5 separate regions of the Homo sapiens genome follow, and all the other regions are linked to region 4. The links are contacts of gene promoters, found by promoter capture Hi-C in human tissues and cell types (Jung and others, 2019). All regions are on one chromosome and are shown on one strand. Each heading gives the region's core, a stretch centred on a gene start or on the middle of the fragment in contact. The rest is flanking DNA. Distances are from core to core; before and after follow the strand shown.

The links. The method cuts DNA at HindIII sites, captures the fragments that hold promoters and counts their contacts. A contact is called where the count stands out against the background at its distance.
Region 1: the fragment with the promoter of ZNF671 here is called in contact with a fragment that was not itself captured in region 4 in 1 of the 25 tissues and cell types used here (dorsolateral prefrontal cortex).
Region 2: the fragment with the promoter of ZNF418 here is called in contact with a fragment that was not itself captured in region 4 in 3 of the 25 tissues and cell types used here (dorsolateral prefrontal cortex, hippocampus and lymphoblastoid cells).
Region 3: a contact is called between the fragment with the promoter of ZNF274 here and a fragment that was not itself captured in region 4, in 1 of the 25 tissues and cell types used here (dorsolateral prefrontal cortex).
Region 5: a contact is called between the fragment with the promoter of ZNF8 here and a fragment that was not itself captured in region 4, in 1 of the 25 tissues and cell types used here (dorsolateral prefrontal cortex).

Annotation. Positions count from the first base shown.
Region 1 is chr19:57,725,695-57,730,248 of GRCh38, reverse strand. ZNF671 (zinc finger protein 671) reads left to right here and starts at 2,625. Exons shown (of 4, transcript NM_024833.3): 1 at 2,625-2,858. The coding sequence starts at 2,721. RefSeq lists enhancers at 2,279-2,328, 2,469-2,908, 2,426-2,926 and a silencer at 2,247-2,472. The HindIII fragment of the contact is 7,784 bases long and covers 1,477-4,554 here.
Region 2 is chr19:57,933,163-57,937,709 of GRCh38, reverse strand. It overlaps ZNF418 (zinc finger protein 418), which reads left to right and starts at 2,308. Exons shown (of 6, transcript NM_133460.3): 1 at 2,308-2,549; 2 at 3,808-3,893. The coding sequence starts at 3,888. RefSeq lists enhancers at 2,341-2,430, 2,023-2,905. The HindIII fragment of the contact is 9,006 bases long and covers 1-4,547 here.
Region 3 is chr19:58,180,657-58,184,753 of GRCh38, reverse strand. ZNF274 (zinc finger protein 274) reads right to left here and starts at 1,693. Exons shown (of 8, transcript NM_133502.3): 1 at 1,312-1,693; 2 at 756-833. The coding sequence starts at 788. RefSeq lists enhancers at 841-1,030, 657-1,368, 1,281-1,700, 1,369-2,082. The HindIII fragment of the contact is 17,090 bases long and covers 1-4,097 here.
Region 4 is chr19:56,524,810-56,529,533 of GRCh38, reverse strand. It overlaps ZNF471 (zinc finger protein 471), which reads right to left. Exons shown (of 5, transcript NM_020813.4): 5 at 1-4,724. The coding sequence ends at 3,586. Among named protein-coding and RNA genes, the nearest start is that of ZFP28-DT, 12 kb to the left of the region's middle. RefSeq lists an enhancer at 2,687-3,886. The HindIII fragment of the contact is 5,520 bases long and covers 1-4,419 here.
Region 5 is chr19:58,275,622-58,280,406 of GRCh38, reverse strand. ZNF8 (zinc finger protein 8) reads right to left here and starts at 1,452. Exons shown (of 4, transcript NM_021089.3): 1 at 1,260-1,452. The coding sequence starts at 1,325. ZNF8-DT (ZNF8 divergent transcript) reads left to right here and starts at 1,665. Exons shown (of 3, transcript NR_187495.1): 1 at 1,665-1,884. It overlaps ZNF8-ERVK3-1 (ZNF8-ERVK3-1 readthrough (NMD candidate)), which reads right to left and starts at 1,441. Exons shown (of 7, transcript NR_144447.1): 1 at 1-1,441. It also overlaps a transcript of ZNF544 not described here. RefSeq lists enhancers at 857-906, 1,327-1,376. The HindIII fragment of the contact is 27,521 bases long and covers 1-4,785 here.

The DNA of each region.
Region 1 (4,554 bases), core at 1,376-3,875, 1.2 Mb before region 4:
TATGTTGTGTCTTTGTTATCGTTGGTTTCAAAGAACATCTTTATTTCTGCCTTCATTTCGTTATGTACCTAGTAGTCATTCAGGAGCAGGTTGTTCAGTTTCCATGTAGTTAAGTGGTTTTGAATGAGTTTCTTAATCCTGAGTTCTAGTTTGATTGCACTGTGGTCTGAGAGACAGTTTGTTATAATTTCTGTTCTTTTACATTTGCGGAGGAGTGCTTTACTTCCAACTATGTGGTCAATTTTGGAATAGGTGTAGTGTGGTGCTGAAAAAAAATGTATATTCTGTTGATTTGGGGTGGAGAGTTCTGTAGATGTCTATTAGGTCCGCTTGGTGCAGAGCTGAGTTCAATTCCTCGATATCCTTGTTAACTTTCTGTCTTGTTGATCCGTCTAATGTTGACAGTGGGGTGTTAAAGTCTCCCATTATTATTGTGTGGGAGTTTAAGTCTCTTTGTAGGTCACTAAGGACTCGCTTTATGAATCTGGGTGCTCCCGTATTGGGTGCATATATATTTAGGATAGTTAGTTCTTCTTGTTGAATTGATCCCTTTACCATTATGTAATGGCCTTCTTTGTCTCTTTTGATCTTTGTTGGTTTAAAGTCTGTTTTATCCGAGAGTAGTATTGCAACCCCTGCCTTTTTTTGTTTTCCATTTGCTTGGTAGATCTTCCTCCATCCCTTTATTTTGAGCCTATGTGTGTCTCTGCATGTGAGATGGGTTTCCTGAATACAGCACACAGATGGGTCTTGACTGTTTATCCAATTTGCCAGTCTGTGCCTTTTAATTGGAGCATTGAGCCCATTTACATTTAAGGTTAGTATTGTTATGTGTGAATTTGATCCTGTCATTATGATGTTAGCTGGTTATTTTGCTCATTAGTTGATGCAGTTTCTTCCTAGCCTTGATGGTCTTTACAATTTGGCATGTTTTTGCAGTGGCTGGTACCAGTTGTTCCTTTCCATGTTTAGTGCTTCCTTCAGGAGCTCTTTTAGGGCAGGCCTGGTGGTGACAAAATCTCTCAGCATTTGCTTGTCTGTAAAGTATTTTATTTCTCCTTCACTTATGAAGCTTAGTTTGGCTGGATATGAAATTCCGGGTTGAAAATTCTTTTCTTTAAGACTGTTGCCTTCTTTAGAATATTTATTTAGGGTATTGTGACAAAGTCAAAAGGTGATGCAGGACAAAAATCATTATATGCAGGACATGTCCTGTATGTATAGGAATCTTGGAAATTTTATTAGTGATGTCTTTCATGCTACTAACACATTTGAAAAACACCTACTGAGAGCTCGTATGTGTTCCTTGGATGTGTATTTTAACAGTGAATTATCAAGACAGCACAACTTCACTGTTGATTTTTACCATTCTGATATCTTCTTTACAATTGCTCAGCATTTTCAGGAAAAAAGAGTCACATTTTGTTGACAAAGTGTGGTCAAGATCACAACACAACCATATGCTTAACTTCATTCTTTCACTTATACTTTAGTATTCAGGCTCAAACTTTACTGAGATCTTAACTTTGTCCATCTATCACAGATATTTCCTTAGAGCAATTTCTTTCATTATCTTCAAATAACTACGGAATCATTATTAATAGCTGTCAGGATTTTTCCCCCGGGGATAATCTCACCTCCTAACACAGACACCATACTTACAATGACAATGACAGGTTAAATGGTAATTGCACTGTGTTTTGCTGTGATGGAGACATCACTGATTACCCAGGCAGGAAGAGTTTTCTGAAGAAATCTGTCCACTGGTTTCAGGGAGACTCCACATCATCCCTCTTCCTTCTTCCACTCCAAGGCCTTGTTTGGAATATTTTCTCTTCCGTCTCTGACCAAACTGAAGCTCACAAAAGTTACTGTAAAGCTTGAGTGCACACATATTTAAAAAGCAACAAGGTAATAGTTATTAGCTTCTAGCTGTGAGTGTACGCAAAGAGACATTGTGGTGTGGTGTATCTATTTAGTTTTGCAGCTTTGGGGAACATCTGAAATGTCTCAACATTTCTGCGATCGGTGCATACTACACTCCAGGGAATCTAGGTCCAGGCCTTTTAAGAGGACAGAAGTCAGCCGGGCACCATGGCTCACTCCTGTAATCCCAGCACTTTGGGAGGCCGAAGCAGGCAAATCACAAAGTCAGGAGTTCGAGACCAGCCTGGCCAACATGGTGAAATCCCGTACTCTGCTAAAAGTACTAAAATTAGCCTGGCGTGGTGGCGGGCCCCTGTAGTCCCAATTACTTGGGAGGCTGAGGCAGGAGAATCGCTTGAACCCGGGAGGCGGAGGTTGCAGTCAGCCGAGATCGCGCCACTGCACTGCAGCCTGGGAGACAGAGCGAGACTCTGTCTCAAAAAAAAAAAAAAAAAAAAAAAAGAGGACGGAAGTCCTGTCAGCCCTTTGAAACTCGGGTTACTTTTCCCAAACAACTTGGCCCTCCTACTTCGAGTTTTCCCAAGAGCCCAGGCCGAGAATCCCCTGCCTTGAAGGATAGCTCAGTGGGAACCACACTCTACCCACAAACCTATACGTTGCATACCCAATGAGGGCCCAGGAGAGGGGTGTTTCAGTGCCTGCGGGGGGTGCGTGGGCGGGACTTCCGGCTCCTCCTTGTAGCGGACATTTTGTTTCTGTCAGGCTGTCCCTGGCCGGGGTTCTGTAACGCTTGTGTGGGCCGCAGGTGGAGGTGTTGGGAAAGCGCGGAGGAGATGTTGTCCCCAGTGTCCCGAGACGCGTCTGATGCTCTGCAGGGACGGAAGTGCCTGCGTCCCCGATCGAGACGCCTGCCGCTCCCGGCAGCTGTCCGCGCCCACGGTCCTATGGCGGAGCTAACGGACTCCGCGCGGGTGGGTGCTGCGTCCTCCGGGCCCTCAGTCACCCTTTCTCCGACTCCGAATCGTAAAGTGCCTGCAGCCCCTGTGTCCCAGGACAGCGACGCACTCTTGGGGCGGGGTCCTATCTCGGTGTGGGTGGGTGTGGGAGAGTTACGGGCGGAGGGGACGGCGCAGGTAAAGGCTCGGGGGTGCTGCTGACCCCCAAACATTTGGGAGACAGGGTTCTCATCAACACAGAGCAGAGTTTGAGGAACTGTGACTGGAATGGCAGGCTGAGAAGTTGTCGCTTCATTCTGAGGGCGTTGAGATTAACTGAGGGTTTTGAATAGAAGGACGTGATCTTAGCTGGGATTTTAAGTGTCTCGAAATTTGCTCAGGGGAGAACATTAGTTTGGGGTGGGGACTGCGAGGATGGATACGAGGAGACCGGTAAGGAGGCTACTGCAGTGGATTCCAGGAATGCTTTGGTGGTGGATGTACCAAGAGTAATGGCAGGTGAGTGGGTAGAAGTGATCATATTCTGGGTAGGTTTTAAATTTGAAACCAACAGGATTTTCTGCTCCATCATATGCAGCTATGACTGAAAGTAAGGCATGAAAGAGCAAGGTGTTTTTGTTGTTTTTCCATGAACGTTTGGATTTTGGAATGGTGACTTTGAGATGTCTCAGAGTGGAGGCTTCCTCACTTAGGCAACTAGAGAGGAAGGTCTGAAGTTGTGGGGAAGGGGCTGGGCTTAGAATATCTTTGGGGTGAAGGGAGCGGTCTGGAGTAGGTCAAGGCCAGGAGGTCAGATTTAAGTGGGGCAGTCTTAAGTATGTTATTTCATATCTCTGGGGTAAGAGATGAGAAGGCTGGGACTGCAGGGCAGGGAAGAGGGAGTGGGCATTCTTGAGACTCCCCCCAGAAGAGAAGGGTCCTGCCATTTGAAAGGGTTCTTTTCAGTGTTTGCAGGAGGAGAGAGCTGTAGGGTATGAGGAGTTTGGCCTGGGATGGCAACGATGGGTGGTGTGCTATTGCTACTATCTGATTATCTCACCCTCATTTTGTGTGTTTTCTTTTAGTTTTAGTTTATTTATTTTTTTTATTTTTTTTGAGACGAAGTCTCACTCTGTCGCCCAGGGTGGGATGCAGTGGCTTATTGCAACCTCTACCTCCCGGGTTCAAGAGATTCTCCCGCCTCAGCCTCCCAAGTAGTTGAGATTACAGGTGCCCACAACCACCCCTGGCTAATTTTAGTATTTATAGTAGAGACGGGGGTGGGGAGGTGGGAGGGGTGGGGTGGGGTGGGGAGGTGGGAGGGGTGGGGTGGGGGCGGGGGAGTGGGGGGGACGTTCACCGTGTTGGCCCAGGTGGTCTTGAACTCCCGACCTCAACTGATCCACCGGCCCCAGCCTTCCAAAGTGTTTGGATTACAGTTGTGAGCCACTGCACTTGGCTTTGGTTTTATTTTATTTATTTATTTTTTTTTTGGAGACGAGTCTCGCTCTGTCACCCAGGCTGGAGTGCAATGGTGCGATCTTGGCTCACTGCAGCTTCTGCCTCCCAGATTCAAGTGATTCTCCTGCCTCAGTTTTCCCAGTAGCTGGGATTACAGGCATGCATCACCATGCCCAGCTAATTTTTGTATTTTATTAGATAGAGTTTCACCATGTTGGCCAGGCTGGTCTCAAACTCGTGACCTCAGTTGATCCACTCCCTTCGGCCTCCC
Region 2 (4,547 bases), core at 1,059-3,558, 1.4 Mb before region 4:
TGAACAGGCACAATTTTTCTCCACCTTGGTATTGTTCAATGTTTTTAATAAAGAAAAAAAAATCTCAATGACAAAACCAACAAGGGGGACATTTTTAATCACATGCTGACCTTAATTCCATCTCTTCGTAGACATCACTGTTAAAACTTCTGGGCCGGGCGAGGTGGCTCACACCTGTAGTCCCAGCACTTTGGGAGGCCACCTCGGGTGGATCACCTGAGGTGAGGAGTTTGCGGCCAGCCTGGCCAAAATGGTGAAACCTTGTGTCTACTGAAAATACAAAAATTAGCTGAGTGTGGTGGCAGGCACCTGTAATCCCAGCTACTTGGGAGGCTGAGGCAGGAGAATGAATTGCTTGACCCAGGAGGAGGAGGTTGCAGTGAGCTGAAACTGTGCCATTGTACTCCAGCCTGGACAACAAGAGTGAAACTCCTTCTCAAAACAAACAAACAAACAAACAAACACCTGTAAAGTCAGCTGGGAGCAGTGACTTATGCCTGTAATGTCAGCATTGTGGGAGAAGGAGGCAGGCAGGTCAGAGGTCAAGAGTTTGAGACCAGTCTGGCCAACATGGTGAAACCTTGTCTCTACTAAAAATACAAAAATTAGCTGGGCGTGGTGGCAGGCATCTGTTATCCCAGCTACTTGGGAGACTGAGGCAGGAGAATCGCTTGAACCCGGGAGGTGGAGGTTGCAGTGAGCCAAGATGGCGCCACTGCACTCCAGTCTGGGACAGAACGAGACTTTGTCTCAAAAAAAAAAAAAAAAAAAAAGAAAGAAAAACTTCTGTGAAGTGTAAATTTTTTTCACCATCCACTCATGTTTCAATTGACCTATTTCTGTCATCGCAGTTATTAGATAGTCGTTGGTAATAAGTTTCTGTAACTGGCATTTCACCTGTTTTTCTGGTATCATATTAGTTCCTCATGCAGAACACTCCCCGCTGTCACAAGAGAAACAAATGATAATCACTTCCCAGGAAAGATAACAAGCTCGATAATTTAACATACGCCTAGTGTCTCCAGGTGGAGATTATCACCACCATTACCAATACCAAGCTGAGATTTCTCTTTCATTGTTCTTTACCTGAGACTGACTTCAAGTTCCTAAAATGAGTTGAAAATATAAGTTAGAATACCAAGTAAGGGATATTACATGAATAAATGTTTTGCTGAATGAATTGGACACAATAATTGACTATATAAGCAGGAGAGTTGTTTTTCCATGGGAACGACTGATTGACCTTTGTACTCTTTCTTTAGCCTCTCCTCTATCTTCCTTGGCATGGTCCTATCTGGATTAGTTCTCTTTTGTCCCTGGCAGACTGAAAAACCAACTCTAATGCCTCAGAGTGAGGCAGGAGAATAGGGAATTAGGGTAACCAAGAATGAAGGCATAAGCAAAAGAACAGCAGGTGCAGCTAGTTCTAGGCAAGATGAGGCAGCACACAGGCCACGTCCTCACTCCTGTGGTAACAAGACAGAAGTCTCCACTTCAGCCTCTGATTGGTTGTGCACCAGTCCTTCATAGGATTGGAGGCCTTTAAAGAACTCTTGGGGTATTATAAAATTCTAGCTTATTCATGGCAAAAACCGCAATTACTTTTGCACCAACCTAATAAAACCCTAAAAAACATTGTAATCGGGGTTCTTGAGCCGCTTGGTCGCCTGCTCCCACACCTACATTCCACTTCTGTGGAGTGTACTTTCCCCTCAATAAATCTGCGCTTTCATTGGTCCGTTCTTTCGTTGCTTTTTTTGTGTGTTTTGTTCACTTCTTTGTTCAATGCGCCAACAACTGGACAACTCACAGCCAAGACATTCTATCCGGTAACAAGAGTGCATTCATGTGAATTATAACAGAGTAATGTTTATCAGCCTCTGCTTCCAGTGCAAGCATTCTGTGTCTAAACGATTGTATAAAGTGATACACGAATTTGGATTTGTAGCCTTTGGGGGCCTTCACAGTATTTTTAGCGCCTGGGAGCTTGAATTTACAGAAATGTGAATTAATATTTTTGCAAACACTTAGGTGGTCAGTTACAAACAGGGATTCCCCAGGAATCTCAATATGGCCTCTAAGGAGGGGCGAGACCATCCTCTGCCCTAAAAGGGTACGCGCTTTAATGAACCCCCTGAGGTAGGGCTGGGACTTCCCTGCAGAAGCGCCTTTGGGAAGCGGCAGCTTTACTACCTTGGAACCTGGGGAACTACATTACCCAGAAAGCTCTACATTGAATGACAGCGCAACAGAACCAGTAAGGGCTCAGAATAAAGGCGTTTCTGTGTGCGCACGTAACGTAGTGGCGGGATTCTCAGCGTTCTCTGGTAGCGACCATTTTGGTTAATGTTGGGTGTGTTTCTGCGGTTTGTGAGGTGAGAGGCGCTGGAGCTATGGGTCCGAACCGCGGTGTCTGAACCCAGAAGGTGAAGAGTCCTTCTTGCTGCACAGAGGCAGATCTTAGGCCCCGTAACGGCGCCCGCCGCTCCCGGCAGTGCTTTCCCCGCGTACTCGGGATGGCGGCGGCCGCGCTGAGGCTCCCGGCTCAGGTAATTGTGCCTTCCCTGCCCTCAGGTCACCTCATCCTAACCCGAATCCTGAAGCAGCGAGAGAGCGGCGACTGTTCACAGGTCTGCAGCCCGGACCCGGCGTCGGGACACTGAGGCGTTCGCGGGAGAGGTCCTTGTTTCTGACACCTGTGGGATGCGGTGGGGAGAGCGACAGGCACAGGGACCGGCGCGGGCTATGGCCTGGAGGACAGACCCGGGAGGATGGAACCTGGGGTCCACAGGCGCCTGTAGGGAACAACGTGTGAGGCGAAGCTTCTCCTGGAAGAGCAGGCTGGGGGCTGTGTATTCGCTGTGAAGACGCTAGAAGCCATGGAGAGTTTCGAAGAAAGGAGGGATGCGATCCAAGTCCAGGCTTTTAAGGTTTCCCAAAGGCCAAAGGAAGAACATAGTAGAGGAGATGAGGACCTTAGGGTTCTGGGAGGTTGACTCCTTTGTTGATAGATCACATAGGTGGTAGAGATGACATTTTGCACTGAGACACGCAGGTCAACCAGTCTGAGGTCACCTGGCTCCAGCGATAAGAAAAGGTTCAAGGAGACCTGAGCTTATCAGATCCCCTTTGTAACGTCTGCTTTCCCCTCAGACACTCCTGGCTACAAAAGCACGTAAAGAACCCACTGAGGGGGTCGGGCAAGGTGGCTCCCACCTGTAATCCCAGCACTTTGGGAGGCCGAGGCGGGCGGATCACCTGAGGTCGGGAGTTCGAGACCAGCCTGACCAACATGGAGAAACCCCGTCTCTAACAAAAATACAAAATTAGCCAGGCGTGGTGATGCCGCATGACTGTAATCCCAGCTACTCAGAGGCTAAGGCAGGAGAATTGCTTGAACTCGGGAGGCAGAGGTTGCGGTGAGCCATTGCACTCCGGCCTGGGCAACAAGAGCGAAACTCTGGCTCAAAAAAAGGAACCCACAGAGGGAATTAGAGGGTGTTCCATTCCCTCACTGGCCTTATTCCCCATTCACATGTTCTCTAGCTTGTGATGTCCTGGGACTCTTACTTGCCATTTTTTCAGTCCTTTGATCTGAGAACACTGGAGAAACCCTAAACCCAGAATCCTAAGTCCATGACACAGGATGTATGGAGGTATTCCCATTTCTGTCAACCCATGTAAACATACTTTGAAGGTTAACTACAGAGTTGGTACCAGGTCATGAAATGCTTAGAGGTAAAAATTCGGTGGGGAGGCAAGAGGGCGGCGAGGAGGTGATGTTACCACAGTCCCATTTGTCTGCAGGCATCATCTGGCTGCAAAGAAGAGAACACACTGTGTTTGAGGGAGGAGGAAGGAGGATCAGAGTTTAAACTCCTGCCATAATGCAGGTGAGGGTTACTGGACCATATTAATGAGTAAGGAGCTGTGGCTGGATTCAAGATTCACAGTTTGTAAAATGGCAACTAGATTTTCCTTTTTTTTTTGAGCGGGAGTCTCGCTCTATCGCCCAGGCTGGAGTGCAGTGGCACGATCTTGGCTCATTGCAAGCTCTGCCTCCCGGGTTCACGCCATTCTCCTGCCTCAACCTCCCGAGTAGCTGGGACTACAGGCGCCCGTCACCATGCTCAGCTAATTTTTTGGATTTTTTAGTAGAGACGGTTTCACTGTGTTAGCCAGGATAGTCTCAATCTCCTGACCTCGTGATCCATCGGCCTCGGCCTCCCAAAGTGCTGGGATTACAGGCATGAGCCACCAAGCCCGGCCATGCCCGGCTAATTTTTAATATTTTTAGTAGAGATGGGGTTTCACCGTGTTAGCCAGATGGTCTTGATCTCCTGACCTCGTGATCTACCCGTCTCGGCCTCCCAAAGTGCTGGGATTACAGGCGTGAGCCACCAAGCCCGGTCGGTAACTAGATTTTCTAATAGACTGTGAGGGCATGAAAGGGGAATCAGGTATGACCACCAGGTTTTTGGTCTTAGCATCTGCAGTGATGGAAGCTGCATCAACTGAGATGAGCACATAGTAGGTATAATATTCAT
Region 3 (4,097 bases), core at 444-2,943, 1.7 Mb before region 4:
CACCCAAGCCGTCAGCCCCTACCCAGGGCCCTGATGCTTCTTTCTATCTCCTTCACCTGTCAGGGATCCATCCTCACCTGTCTTTTCTACTTGTTATTGAACTCTGCTGCTGTCACCTCTTGCTTGATGCCAATTTATCTGCTGAAATCTAAACATAAGCCTGATCCCTGCATAGACCTTTGGGAGGCCGAGATGGTCGGATCACCTTAGGTCAAGAGTTCCAGACCAGCCTGGCCAACATGGTGAAACCCCGTCTCCACAAAAAACACACACAAAAAATAAAAATAAAAAAAAAATTAGCTGGGTATGGTGGCACACGCCTGTAGTCCCAGCTACTCGGGGAGGCTGAGGCAGGAGAATCACTTGAACCCAGGAGGCGGAGGTTGCAGTGAGCCAAGATCGCGCCACTGCACTCCAGCCTGGGCGACAGAGGGAGACTCCATCTCAAAAAACAAAAAACAAACAAACAAAAGACCTGTCAATTACTCTTCCCAATATAAAGGATACAAGCAAGAGCCTTAACCTGGCCTTCAGAAGCCCCTACAATCTGGTCTCTATTCTAACTACACCCTTGGAAAACCAAGCAACCTGCGGTTCCACCATCACGCAGGATCTCTCATGCCCAACCAATCTCTACCCCCTCCCCGAGGTGCTCTGGAGGATGGGGGTATCTCAGGGAAGGTGGTATCTCACCACCATCCGCATCCTCCCAGGTGCAGTAGCGGACTCAAAAGCTGAAGGAAGCCTCTACTCACACAGGACCAGGCCGTCGGAAGCCTGGAGGCCATAGTTTCCTCCTTCTCAATGTGTCTCTGGTGGAAGTGGGCAGAGTCCTGAGGAAACCGAAGTTGGGAGGGGAGGGAGAGGCTTAAGGTGTCCGCTGGGGAGCTACCGCAGCCTCCGCCCAGGAACGGCTCCCTCAGCGGGAAATGACAAGTCCACCCAAACTGGAAAACGCCCAGAGTGAGTCATAGGACTCCCACAGGACTGGATAGGACCAGTTTTCCCCTCCCCGAGAGGACACCGAGCCTCCTCTGTCCCGCGCATCGGAGGGGATCGCCTCCCTGGCCCAGACCCCACGCTTCCGGAGGCGATCTGTTCTCTCCACCGCGGCGCCCCGAAAGCACTGTCTCCCCTCGGGGTTCCGGGTCACCGACCCCATCCCACAGAGCGGCGGGAGGACTGCAGGCACGGCCGGCTCAGGGTACCCGAGCTCGGCGGAAAATGCAGAGGCCGCGCTCGCCCCCAACTAACGGTTCTGGACCCGCCCAGCGCAGCCCCCGACGGACGCAGGTTTCGCGCGGCACTCACCCGGCGCGCGCCGCACAATGGCGCCCGTCGGCCGGCGGCGAAGTGCGTCAGCCCGCCGTCCCGAACTACAACTCCCAGACGCCCCCGCGGCGCGCCAGCTTGCCTCACCCAGCGGCGGCCATCTTGACTGGCCGGTTAGGGGCGGCAGGCGAAGCCGGGGACAGCAGGAGGAGGATACTCGTCGATGTCCCTCGGCGGTCCAGCTAGGCAAGGGGAGGCCTCTGGTGAGGGACGCTAGGCCGCAGGGCCCCACACTAATGTGGGCGGCGACCCGAGCTGGGAGAGAGTCGTGCCCTGCCACGAAGGCGACCACTCTTGGGGCAGAGCAGAAGCTGGAGAAAGGAAAGGCGCTGGACAGGGGTCAGGCCGGAAGTGCTGGAATGGGTGATGCTTGGTTGGGTGGCGGTGGGGGCGGGATTAATTATGACGTCCCTTGGGAAGAGGAAGGGCGGGTAGGGCCGGAAGTGCAGGGGGCGGGCCTAACTGGCCGTCCATCTGGGTGGAGGGGCGGGGACAGGGAGGGCGGGGAGAATGTAGGAGGCGGGGCTAGAGTCCACGCAACTTTTGGGGAAGGAGGGGGACTGGAAGACGGAAGTCGCGGGGGGAGTGGGGAGAGGTACTGAAGTTCCACCAGTTTCAAAGTCGAGAAAGAAGGGGAGGACTGGGAGAGCCGGAAGTGTGCAGGAGTTGGGACTGACGGCACTTATGTTTCTGGGAGATGGGTCCTGCCTGAAAGTGAGGGTGGACAGGGCCAAGTGTCCACTCAAGGTCAGGGAGGGGAGGGAAACTCGGAGGACCGGAAGTGTGATGGGAACGTGGCCAAACGTCCACCCTAGTTCTGGGGATTAGAGGAAGGGAGTAGGAAGGTCAGGGGTGTGCAAGGGGAAGGAGGGAAGACTAGGTGGACCACAAGTGTGATGGGAATGAGGCCAAACGTCTACCCTAGTTCTGGAGAGATGATCAGGGCTAACTGTACCCCAGGCATTGGGGAGGAGGAGCAGGATCCTCTGCCTAGTGTCCCCCTGTGGTCCAGTTTGCTCCTGGAAGCTGAGGTGCTCATGTCTAGGGAGAGGAAACCTAAGTCTGTAGCTGTCCAGGACCTGGTGTGTGCCACCCATCCTTGGGCCCAGGGTGCTCTCATCTTCCTTGGGAGCTCAGGACAAGGAGGTATTCTCTTGGCTTCCTCAAGGACCGACATCTGGTGTTTTCTTATCTTCCTTAGGTCCCAGGTCCCAGTATGGTCTTGTCTTCTTGGGACCTGAGGGCCCTAATGATCTCTCTCAGTGCTCAGGACCCTGTGTCCTCTTTCTTGATATTTCCTGGCAGGTCTCAGCAGCCCTCTGCCTCCCTCTGGTGGTCGTGTACACTGCCTGCTAAACTTGTTCCACGGGTTGTTGGTTTTTTTGGTCACTGTGGAGGATCCAACCTCAGGCTACACATTGTTTAATTGTTGCTGTTAGTGTGTTGATTTTGGCATAGGAGTATTTACTCAGAGACTGTGCAGATATCTTATAGTCTAATAATATTTCATTGGATTTTTCGTGTCTATTATAGATACAACACCATCCCCAATTAATAAGTAATTTGATATCTTCTTTTTCCATATTTCAACTTTAAAAAATTAACATTGTATAGTCCTAGCTAGTATGACAGAGCTATGTTAAGTAGTCATGTTTACTAATAGTCTTGTTTTGTTCTGGATTTGAATAGGATACGTCTAGCCCTTCATAATCACAAGGAAGCAAACCCCCTTGGAAATTCTTTTTTTTCTTTCTTTTTTTTTTTCTTGAGACAGGGTCTTGCTCTGTCACCCCGACTGGAATGCATTGGTGCGATCACAGCTTACTGCAGCCTCCACCTCCTGGGCCCAAGTGATCCGCCCACCTTAGCCTCTCAAATAGCTGGGACAGGTGCACACCACCACACCTGGCTTTTTTTTTTTTGGAGACAGAGTCTTGCTCTGTCGCCCAGGCTGGAGTGAGGTGGCACAATCTCGGCTCACTGCAACCTCTGCTTCCTGGGTTCAAGCGATTTTCCTGCCTCAGCTGCCCAAGTAGCTTGGACTACAGGTGTGTGCCACCATGCCTGGCTAATTTTTGTATTTGTAGTAGAGACGGGGTTTCTCCATGTTAGCCAGCCTGGTCTCGAACTCCTGACCTCAGGCAGTCTGCCCACCTCAGCCTCCCAAAGTGCTGAGATTATAGGCATGAGCCACCCCGCCTGGCCTCTTTTGTACTTTTTTGTAGAGACAGAAACCTCACTATGTTGCCCAGGCAGGTGGAAATTCTTCTAATGATTTCTTTCTATTTATGTGGTATAGGATAAAACCTGATTTTTGATTAAAAGAATTTGTTTTTGAGACAGGGTCTTGTTCTGTTGCCCAGGCTGGAGAGCAGTGCTGCAGTCATGGCTTACTGCTGGCCCAACCTCCTGGGCTCAAGTGTTCCTCCCATCTCAGCTTTCCAAGTAGCTAGGACTGACTACTGGTGTGCATCACCACACCTGGCTAATTTTTAATAAATATTTGTGTAGAGATGAGGTCTCAGTGTGTTGTCAGGGCTGGTCTTGAACTCCTGGACTCAAGCAATCCTCCCGCCTTGGCCTCCCAAAGTGCTGGGATTGCAGGCGTGAGCCACCATGCCTGACCAAAGATGTTTTGTTTTTTTTTTTTTGTTTTGAGACAGAGTCTCGCTCTTTCGCTCAGGCTGGAGTGCAATGGCGTGATTTCGGCTCAACTGCAACCTCTGCCTCCCGGGTTCAAGTGATTCTCCCTGCCTCAGCCTCCT
Region 4 (4,724 bases), core at 410-2,909:
CTTTTAACTTTGCATACAGTATCTTACGCCATGAAAAAGGTTTAAATCTTCTACACAGTCCTGTCATTCTCTCTTCATGGCTTCTGGACCTTGTCCTGCTTATCAAAGACCTCCTGAACCTAAAGGCACAGAAATACTCTACATTCTCCTCTACCATCTTAACCTCTTACATCTGTAATGAGTATAGAATGAACTTCTGTGTAAGGAGTCAAATGGGATGCTGACTTTATTTCTAGTTGGACAACTGTCAAAGACATTTAATCTCCCCCAATGATACATCGAAAACACTTTTCAAATATAAAAAACCCATGGATACGACCTTCTACAAAACCTCCCTTCTGATTCCTGCCTAATTAACACTCAACATGAATTTCAGAACTGTCAATGTAAAAGTAACTTACAGGATTACAATATTGAAACATTCATGTAGGATCATGTTATGGATCTCCATTTATTCACAGCCTCTGTTCTCCATCAGCAGAGGCTAATAATTTCCTTTTGTATATAACTAAGTAAACTCACCTATAATTTCATTTCTTTCCCCTTGGTTTGATATCAGAGTTGACTTAGCCTCATGAAAGAAGTGGAACATTTTAAGTGTTTTTTTTAAAAAAAATATACTCCAGAACAACTTTACTAGTGGAACAACTTTACTTGGAAGGTTAGAATAAATCTGTGAACCCACATGTTGAAATAGAACTATATTATTCAATTTCTCTTTCTTCAGTTAAACATTAGTGATTTTTTTTTACTTGACTAAATAAAGTCTTGTATATATTCCCCGCAGGAATTCTAATTCTTTTGTTCGTTTTATCCAGAGCTATATAGCCACTTCTTAAAACATGTTCTATTTATCAAGTCATAATTAATTTCCTCACCAACAAGGGAACACAGCCTTAATCATGAGACAGCCGCTGTGATGTCTTATTATAATATTAAATGTTAAGCATACTACATGTGCTAATCACCATCTACCTTAAGATACTGTTTTAAGTCAGGCTGGTTGCCTGTAATTGCAGCCACTTGAGAATGAGGTGGGAGGGTCACTTGAGCACAGGAGTTTGAGACCACCCTGGGCAACATAGAAAGACACCATTTAAAACTTTTTTTTTAGCTTAAAAAAAGATACTGTTTTGGTTCCAAAATTTTTATGACTGCCATACTGCTTTCAAGAATGCACTGTTTAAAAATAATTTACATCAATTCTGGAGAATACTTATCTAACATTTACTAAGCACTTAGTATGAGTTGGTCATTTTGCTAAGCACTTTATGTACATCAAGTATTTTAACTAGAGTTTTAAGAGTAACTTAATTTGCATTTTTGAAAGGTCACTGTGGCTGTAATGTTAACTCGAAAGGGACAAAAGAGGATGAAGTTTTAGAATTCATGGGTATGCAACCCATTGAATGTGAGGACTTTTTTGCTTATCGGAGGTGGTGTATCACTAAAACTATGCACAGACTTTTTTTTTTTCTTAGCTCATCAGCTATTGTTAATGTTAGTGTATTGTATGTGTGGCACAAGACAATTTTTCTTCTTCCAATGTGGCCCAGGGAAGACAAAAGGTTGGACACCTGTGTAATGATTGAAATAGTCCAGGTGAAATGACTGTGTTTTGGACTGGGGAACCAAAAGAAGTGGATAAATTCCAAAAATATTTAGCAGATATATCCACAGGACTTGGTGATGTAGTGGGTGAGGAAGAGCTGGCTGCCTGAAATGAACTCACTAATGAGCAAGGTGTGCATCTTGTCTGAGGACATTTGCACATTCTTTACATTGTTAAGACCGCTCTGCAGTATGAATTCTTCCCTGTAAAGCATTCAATCTGGCTGAAGGTTTTTCTTCTGTATGCTTCACGAAGTTCTCATGCTGTGTTTTTCAGCTCCATCAGGTCATTTATGTTCTTCTCTAAACTGGTTATTCTAGTTAGCAATTCCTCTAACCTTTTTTCAAGGTTCTTAGCTTCCTTGCATTGGGTTAGAACATGCTCCTTTAGCTCAGAGGAGTTTGTTATTTCCCACCTTCTGAAGCCTACTTCTGTCAATTTGTCAAACTCATTCTCTATCCAGTTTTGTTCCCTTGCCGGCAAGGAGTTGTGATCCTTTGGAGGAGAAGAGGCATTCTGGTTTTTGGAATTTTCAGGCTTTTTGCACTGGTTTCTCCTCATCTTCGTGAATTTATCTACCTTTGGTCTTTGATGCTGGTAACCTTCAGATGGGGTTTCTGTGTGGATGTCCTTTGTTGATGTTGATTATATTCCTGTTAGTTTTCCTTCTAACAGTGAGGCCCCTCGGCTGCAGGTCTGCTGGAGTTTGCTGGAGGTCCACTCCAGACCATATCTGCCTGGGTATCACCGGTGGAGGCTGCAGAACAGCAAAGATTGCTGCCTGTTCCTTCCTCTGGAAGCTTTGTCCCAGAGGGGCACCCACCAGATGCCAGCCAGAGCTCTCCTGTATGAGGTGTCTGTGGACCCCTGCTGGGAGGTGTCTCCCCGTCAGGAGGCATGGGGGTCAGGGACCCACTTGAGGAGGCAGTCTGTCCCTTAGCAGAGCTCAAGCGCTGTGCTGGAAGAACTGCTGCTCTCTTCAGAGCTGGCAGGCAGGAATGTTTAAGTCTGCTGAAGCTGTGCCCACAGCCACCCCTTTCCCCCACGTGCTTTGTCCCAGGGAGATGAGGGTTTTATCTGCACTTTTTTCAAAGATGCGCTGCCCAGAGAGGAGGAATCTAGAGAGGCAGTCTGGCTACAGAGGCTTTGCTGAGCTGTGGAGGGCTCTGCTCAGCTGGAACTTCCCCATGGCTTTGTTTACGCTGTGAGGGGAAAACCACCTATTCAAGCTTTGGTAATGGTTGGCGCCCCTCCCCCCACCAAGCTTGATCATCCCAGGTTGACTTCAGACTGCTGTGCTGGCAGGGAGAATTCCAAGCCAGTGGATCTTAGCTTGCTGGGCTCAGTGGGCATGGGAACCACTTGGCTCCCCGGCTTCAGCCCCCTTAACAAGGGAGTAAGCGGTTCTGTTTCACTGGCATTCCAGGTGCCACTGGGCTATCAAAAAAACTCCTACAGCTAGCTCGGTGTCTGCCCGAATGGCCGCCCAGTTTTGTGCTTGAAACCCAGGGCCTTGGTGGCATAGGCACCCAAGGGGGATCTCCTGGTCTGTGGGTTGCGAAGACCATGGGAAAAGCGTAGTATCTGTGCCGGAGTGCACCATTCCTCATGGCACAGTCCCTCATGGCTTCCCTTGGCTAGGGGAGGGAGATCCCCGACTCCTTGCACTTCCCAGGTGAGGTTACGCCCCACCCTGCTTCAGCTCACCCTCCGTGGGCTGCACCCACTGTCTAACCAGTCCCAATGAGATGAGCCAGGTACCTCAGCTGGAAATACAGAAAGCACCCACCTTCTGCGTTGATCTCACTGGGAACTGCAGATCAGAGCTGTTCCTATTCGGCCATCTTGCCAGCCTCCTGGCTGAAGGTTTTTCTACATTTCTTACATTTATATGTTTTTTATCCAGTGGGACATCTCTGATTAACAGTAGGGGATTGGTGATAACTAAAGGCTTGGCCACATGCACTACATTCTTAAGGTTCTTCTCCAGTATGACTTCTTTGATGACAAATTAAGGATAACTTTCTTCTGAACGCCTTCCCACATTCAAAACACTGATAGGGCCTTTGGCCAGTGTGGAGTCTTTGATGCTGAGCACAGGATGAGCTATCACTAAAAGCCTTTCCACATTCAGTACATTTATAGGGTTTCTCTCCAGTATGAATTCTTTGATGTTGAGTAAGATTGGAAGTTTGGCTGAAGGCTTTCCCGCATTCATTACACTCATAAGGTTTCTCTCCTGTATGAGTTTTCTGATGTTGGGCAAGGTGTGATCTCTGTTTGAAAGCATTTCCACATTCAATACATTCATAAGGCTTCTCTCCAGTATGAATTCTCTGATGAGTAGCCAGCTGTGAACTGATTCTAAAAGCTTTTCCACATTCTTTACATTCATAGGGTTTTTCACCAGTATGAATTCTCAAATGACTAACAAGGTGTACATTCTGCCTAAAGGCTTTCCCACATTCCTTGCATTCATACGGTTTCTCTCCAGAATGTACTCTTTGATGCTGAGTGAGTGATGCATGATGGCTAAAATCTTTCCCACATATATCACATTCATAAGGTTTCTCTCCTGTATGAATTCTCTGATGTACAGTACGGGATGAACCCGAGCTGAAGGTTTTTCCACACACACCACATTTGTAAGGTTTCTCTCCTGTATGAATTCTCCTATGCAGAATAAGTCCTATGTGAACACTGAAGGCTTTCCCACAATCAATGCAATTAAAAGGCTTCTCTCCAGTATGATAACTCCTCCAGTGACGAATAAAAGATGTGTTATACCTAAAAGCCTTCCCACACTCAATACATTCATAGGGTCTTTTGCCAGTGTGACATCTCTGATGTCGAGCAAAAGACGAGCCATCACTGAAGGCTTTGCCACATTCTTTACATTCATAGGGTTTCTCTCCAGTATGAATTCTCTGATGCTGAGCAAGGTGTGCAGGCTGTCTGAAGGCTTTTCTGCATTCCTTACATTTATATGGTTTTTCTCCAGTATGAATTCTTTGATGCTGAATAAGGTGTTCACTTTGTTTGAAGGCTTTCCTACATTCTTTACATTCAAAGAGTTTCTCTCCAGTATGTGTTCTGTGATGTTGAGCAAGGT
Region 5 (4,785 bases), core at 203-2,702, 1.8 Mb before region 4:
CTTGCCCTCTCCTGGATCACTTGTTCTGTGGGAAGCCAGATGCCATGTTGCAAGGATCCCTAGCAGTTCCAAAGAGAGGCCTACATGGAGAACAACTGAGGTCTCCTATCAACAGACATGTGAGTGAGCCATCCTGGAGGTGGATCCTCCAGACTCAGGTCTCAGGTGACAACAGCTATGCTGACATCTTCACTGTAACTTCATGGGCCTGAACCAGAACCACCAGCTAGGACATTCCATTACTCCTGTCAGAACTCGTGAGATATTTATTGTTGTTCCAGGTCACGAAGTTTTGAGTTACACAGCAACAGGTAACTAATACACTTTCTCTCAAGCCTTTCTTACGACTCATTCCTTGTCCCCCATCCACAGCAAGAACAAAATAAAACGTGGTAGCATTTCATGCAAATTTGGAGCAACACACATCTGAAAACCTGCAACCTAAGATTATCAAGTCTCACTTTGTGTACCAAATCTGAAATAATGCAAATCCCCATGAACAAACCAACGACAAAAAATAAAAAAAAGTATAATTTCAAAGTTGCAGAGCTTGAGGAAGGATAATTATTGTTGTTTCCTGCCACGCGAGGCAGCTTTATGGAGAACACAGGCCGCAACCACTTTGTCTAGAAAGTGGAGCTCTGATGGCCAGATGGCCCTGCAAACACTGACCGCCCTGCACTGCAGTTCTCCCACAGTCTCGCAGGGGACGACCCTGGTGGTCACTCTCATCACACTCAGTGCGTGGTGACCCATCATTGCCCCCAAGAGGTTGTGCCCAAGCCCCAGGGCAGGGGCTCCGCGGTGCTGGGGTCCCGGTGGGTGTCCGCTGACTCCACGCGTTAAAGCATCTCTATTCGATGATTCTTGCCATCTGGGCACCCGGCCAACGCTACAATTACTGTTATCAGTCAACACGAGGACAGACCTTCCTGGAATGGGCAAGGGTGTCGGCGGGGCGGAGCAGAACGCAGGAGATGGGCCTGCTCGATTCTCTCGGGAATGACCGACCCCAGCCCTGGGGAGGACAGAGCCGCGTGGAGCATGCGCATTCGGGGGCCAGGCGCCTGGTTGGAATCCCGGCCCCCTCTCTGACCAGCCAGGACGGTCACCACGCCCCGACCCGCGTCTGAGTTTCCCCACGTGTCAAGGGCATTAACAGCGGTGCCGCTCTCATCGCGCCGCGAGGTGAAAGGGTCAGTCTGCGCGGGAGACGCTTGCCCGGAGCCCGCCGCCGTCGTTATTGTTGTTATTGTTACCTGAAGCCGGGCCGCCGGCGGCCCCACAGACATCACTCCCGCTACCCCTTCGTCCTCGGGGTCCATGCTGGATCGCCCAGTGAAGGACAGCGCCTGAGGTGATCCCCAGACCAGAGAGGCACTCCAGCCAAAGGGACCACCCGACTCGCCGAACGCCGGACAATGGCGGCCGCACCGGCGACGCGGCGACTACAACTCCCAGTAGGCCGTGCGGCGAACCACAGCCCTCGGCCAATGGGAGTCTCCGCTGGTCTGGCCTTCGACCAATGGAAGCATTATGGCCGATGGCCAATGGGAGCCCCCACCCGCTGGCCTCTGGCCAATGGGAGCACTCAGCTAAGGCTGGTGGGGGCGGTGTTGCTCGGGGCTGCGATGCCCCTTAGGTTGCGGGCAACCAGAGGCCTCACTCGTGGGCAGGAAGCAAGGGCGGACCCCGAGAGATGACTGATTGTGGGGGTGGGGACCGTCTGCTCCTCCTAATGGCTGGGGACCGTGCACGTCTGCGCGGGCCGGACCTGCTCTTCTCGGGAACTTGCGCGGGAGGAGGCCCGGAGCTGCGCCGCTTTACCCTCTGCTCCCCGGTGCCTAAAACGCACACGCATCAAAGTCACAGGACGAGTTAGAGGTTTGTTCATATAAAAGACTTTGGGCTTAGCGGCTGGAAGCGGGGAGGCTGGGAGCGGTGGTTGTGTTACAGGAAAGGGGTCCGATTCAGACCCCAAGGGAGGGTTCTTGGATCTCGCGCAAGAAAAAATTCAGGGCGAGTCCGCAGTGCAAAGTAAAAGCAAGTTTGTTGAGAAAGTAAAGTTGTGAAACAGCTACCCCATAGACAGTAGGACGTTCCTGAAAGTAAGAGGAACGTATGCACCCTAGGTACAATGCTTGTGTATATTTGGGCTAAAAATAGATTTTGGGGAGATGTGCTCTGCTACAAGGGTTTGTGAAAAAGGATTAATTTTCTTACTGTATTTTTCAAGAATCGATATTATTTTTAAAGCAAAATTAGGAATGCCTTTGTTCTCTAGATACCGGGATATCTGGACACTCCCAAGTCTGGGTCTGTTTTAGTACCCATTATTAATTTGTTCCCTTAACCGTAAACATCTAGAGGTTAGGAATACCTACTTTTCTGGGAATGCAGCCCAGCCTCATTTTCCTAGCCCTCACTCAAAATGGAGTCGCTCTGGGTCGAATGCCTCTGACAGCCCTATTGCTTCTCCCTGTGGGTGTTCACTTTGTGATGTGTCTTTTTCTGTGGGTCTGTTGTAGTCCATTAAAATGTTTATTAAAGGTCGGGCGCGGTGGCTAACGCCTATAATCCCAGCACTTTGGGAAGTCGAGGCGGGTGGATCACGATGTCAGGAGCTCGAGACCAACCTGGCCAATATGGTGAAACCCCGTCTCTACTAAAAATACAAAAATTAGCCCGGCGTGGTGGCGGGCACCTGTAGTCCCAGCTTCTCGGGAGGCTGAGGCAGGAGAATCGCTTGAACCTGGGAGGCGGAGGTTGCCGTGAGCCGAGGTCAGGCCACTGCACTCCAGCCTGGGTGACAGAGCAAGACTCCGTCTCAAAAAAAAAATAAAAAGTTATTAAAAAAGAAAAATGGGGAAGCAGATTTCCATTCAAAAATGTTGCATTCAAACCACAACAATTTTTAACTTTTTTAAATTTTACCAAGAGCCAGACACATAGCAGGGAACAGTATAGTTACTTGTTATTTGCTCACCCCCATGGGGCTGATGGTGTAGTCTGAGGGACTGAAGATCAACCATGACATGGCCCTTCACACCGTGTTGAAGGGGTGAAGACGTTACCAGTGGGGACGGAGGAGCTGACTCCCGAGGGGCTCAAGCTGGCCACACTCTCTCAGATCCTTCTGGCCGACTCCTGAGGGCTCAAGCTGGCCACACTCTCTCAGATCCTTCTGGCCCTGTACCGTCTCTGCTTTTTGCTGGGCCTCGTTCCTGAGAAGGAGCAGGTGTTAGGCAAGTTACACAAAATTATGAGAGGACATGGTTTTGGACTGAGCTCCTGCTCTAGGCCTCATGAGACCAGACCAAACCAAGACAGAGTCACTTAGGCTAAATGCCACATAATCAGACTGATACTTTAAGCAGGTAGATCCCTAAACAAACCAGATTTCCAGTCTACCTGAGCAGCATAATAAGGAAGTCCCCTCTGCTTTAATCCTTACAAGAAAAGTAACCTAGTGTTAACTAATTAGCCTTTTCTCTATCTTACAAAAACCACTATTCTACCATTTGCCCCGTGGGAGCTCTCATTCCGTTTTGCAGAGTGGAGGCTGCCCAGATTCATGAATCACAAATAAAAGCCAATTCGATCTTTAACCAAATTTGTTAAAATTCTGTCTTTTGGCTGGGTGTGGTGGCTCACGCCTGTGAGTGAATCCCAGCACTTTGGGAGGCTGAGGTGGGTGGATCACCTGAGGTCAGGAGTTTGAGACCACCCTGGCCAACATGGTGAAACCTTGTCTCTAATACAAATACAAAAATTAGCCAGGTGTGGTGGCGGGCACCTGTAATCCCAGATACTCAGGAGGCTGAGGCAGGAGAATCGCTTGAAACTGGGAGGCGGAGGTTGCGATTAGCTGAGATTGCGCCACTGCACTCCAGCCTGGGCGACAGAGTGAGACTCCATCTCAAAAATAAAATAAAATAAAAATAAAATTCTGACTTTTGACAGATGTCTTCACTCACCTGAGCAAGTGGCAGCTGCTGTGGGAACTGGATCAGGCAGCCTTCCAGGAGACTAAATCTGTCTTCTATTGGGAGTCCCAAAAAGCTCCCAGGCAGCATCCCCTTCTCTGTAGGCAGAGAAGGTACTAGGAGGATCTATTGCCTTCCCCTGCACAGTGGCCACCAGTGTTGGAGAGGTAGGGGCAGGTGTGCAAAGATCTATTCTCTTTAGGGGAAACCTGTGTGTTCTTTTTTTGTTGTTTATTTGTTTTTTGAGACAGGGTCTCACTCTGTTGTCCAAGCTGGAATGCAGTGCTGCAATCTTGGCTCATTGTAACCTCCACTTCCCAGGCTCAAGTGATCCTGCATCCTTAGCCTCCTGAGTAGCTGGGAGCACAGGTGAGAGCCACCACACTGGGCCAATTTTTGTAGAGACTGGATTTTGCCATGTTGCCCAGGCTGGTCTTGAACTCCAGAGCTCAAAGCAATCTTATCTGCCTCAGCCTCTGAAAGTGCTGGGATTACAGGAATGCGCCACTGCACCCGGCCCTGTGTATTCATTTTGGAGCCAGTCACTGGGCTCAGCTTTCCTCCTAGTTCTAATGGTGTGGAATCTGTGATTTTGATGTCCTATTATTTCCTCTTTCCTTTTTTTTTTTTTTTTTTTGAGACAGGGTCTCACCTGTTGCCCACTCTGGAGAGCAGTGGTGTGATCACAGCTCACTGCAGCTTCAACCTCTTGGGCTCAAGGGATTCTCCCACCTCAGCCTCATGCTACCATGCCTGGCTAATTTTTGTATTTTTTGTAGAGACAGGGTTTTGTGATGTT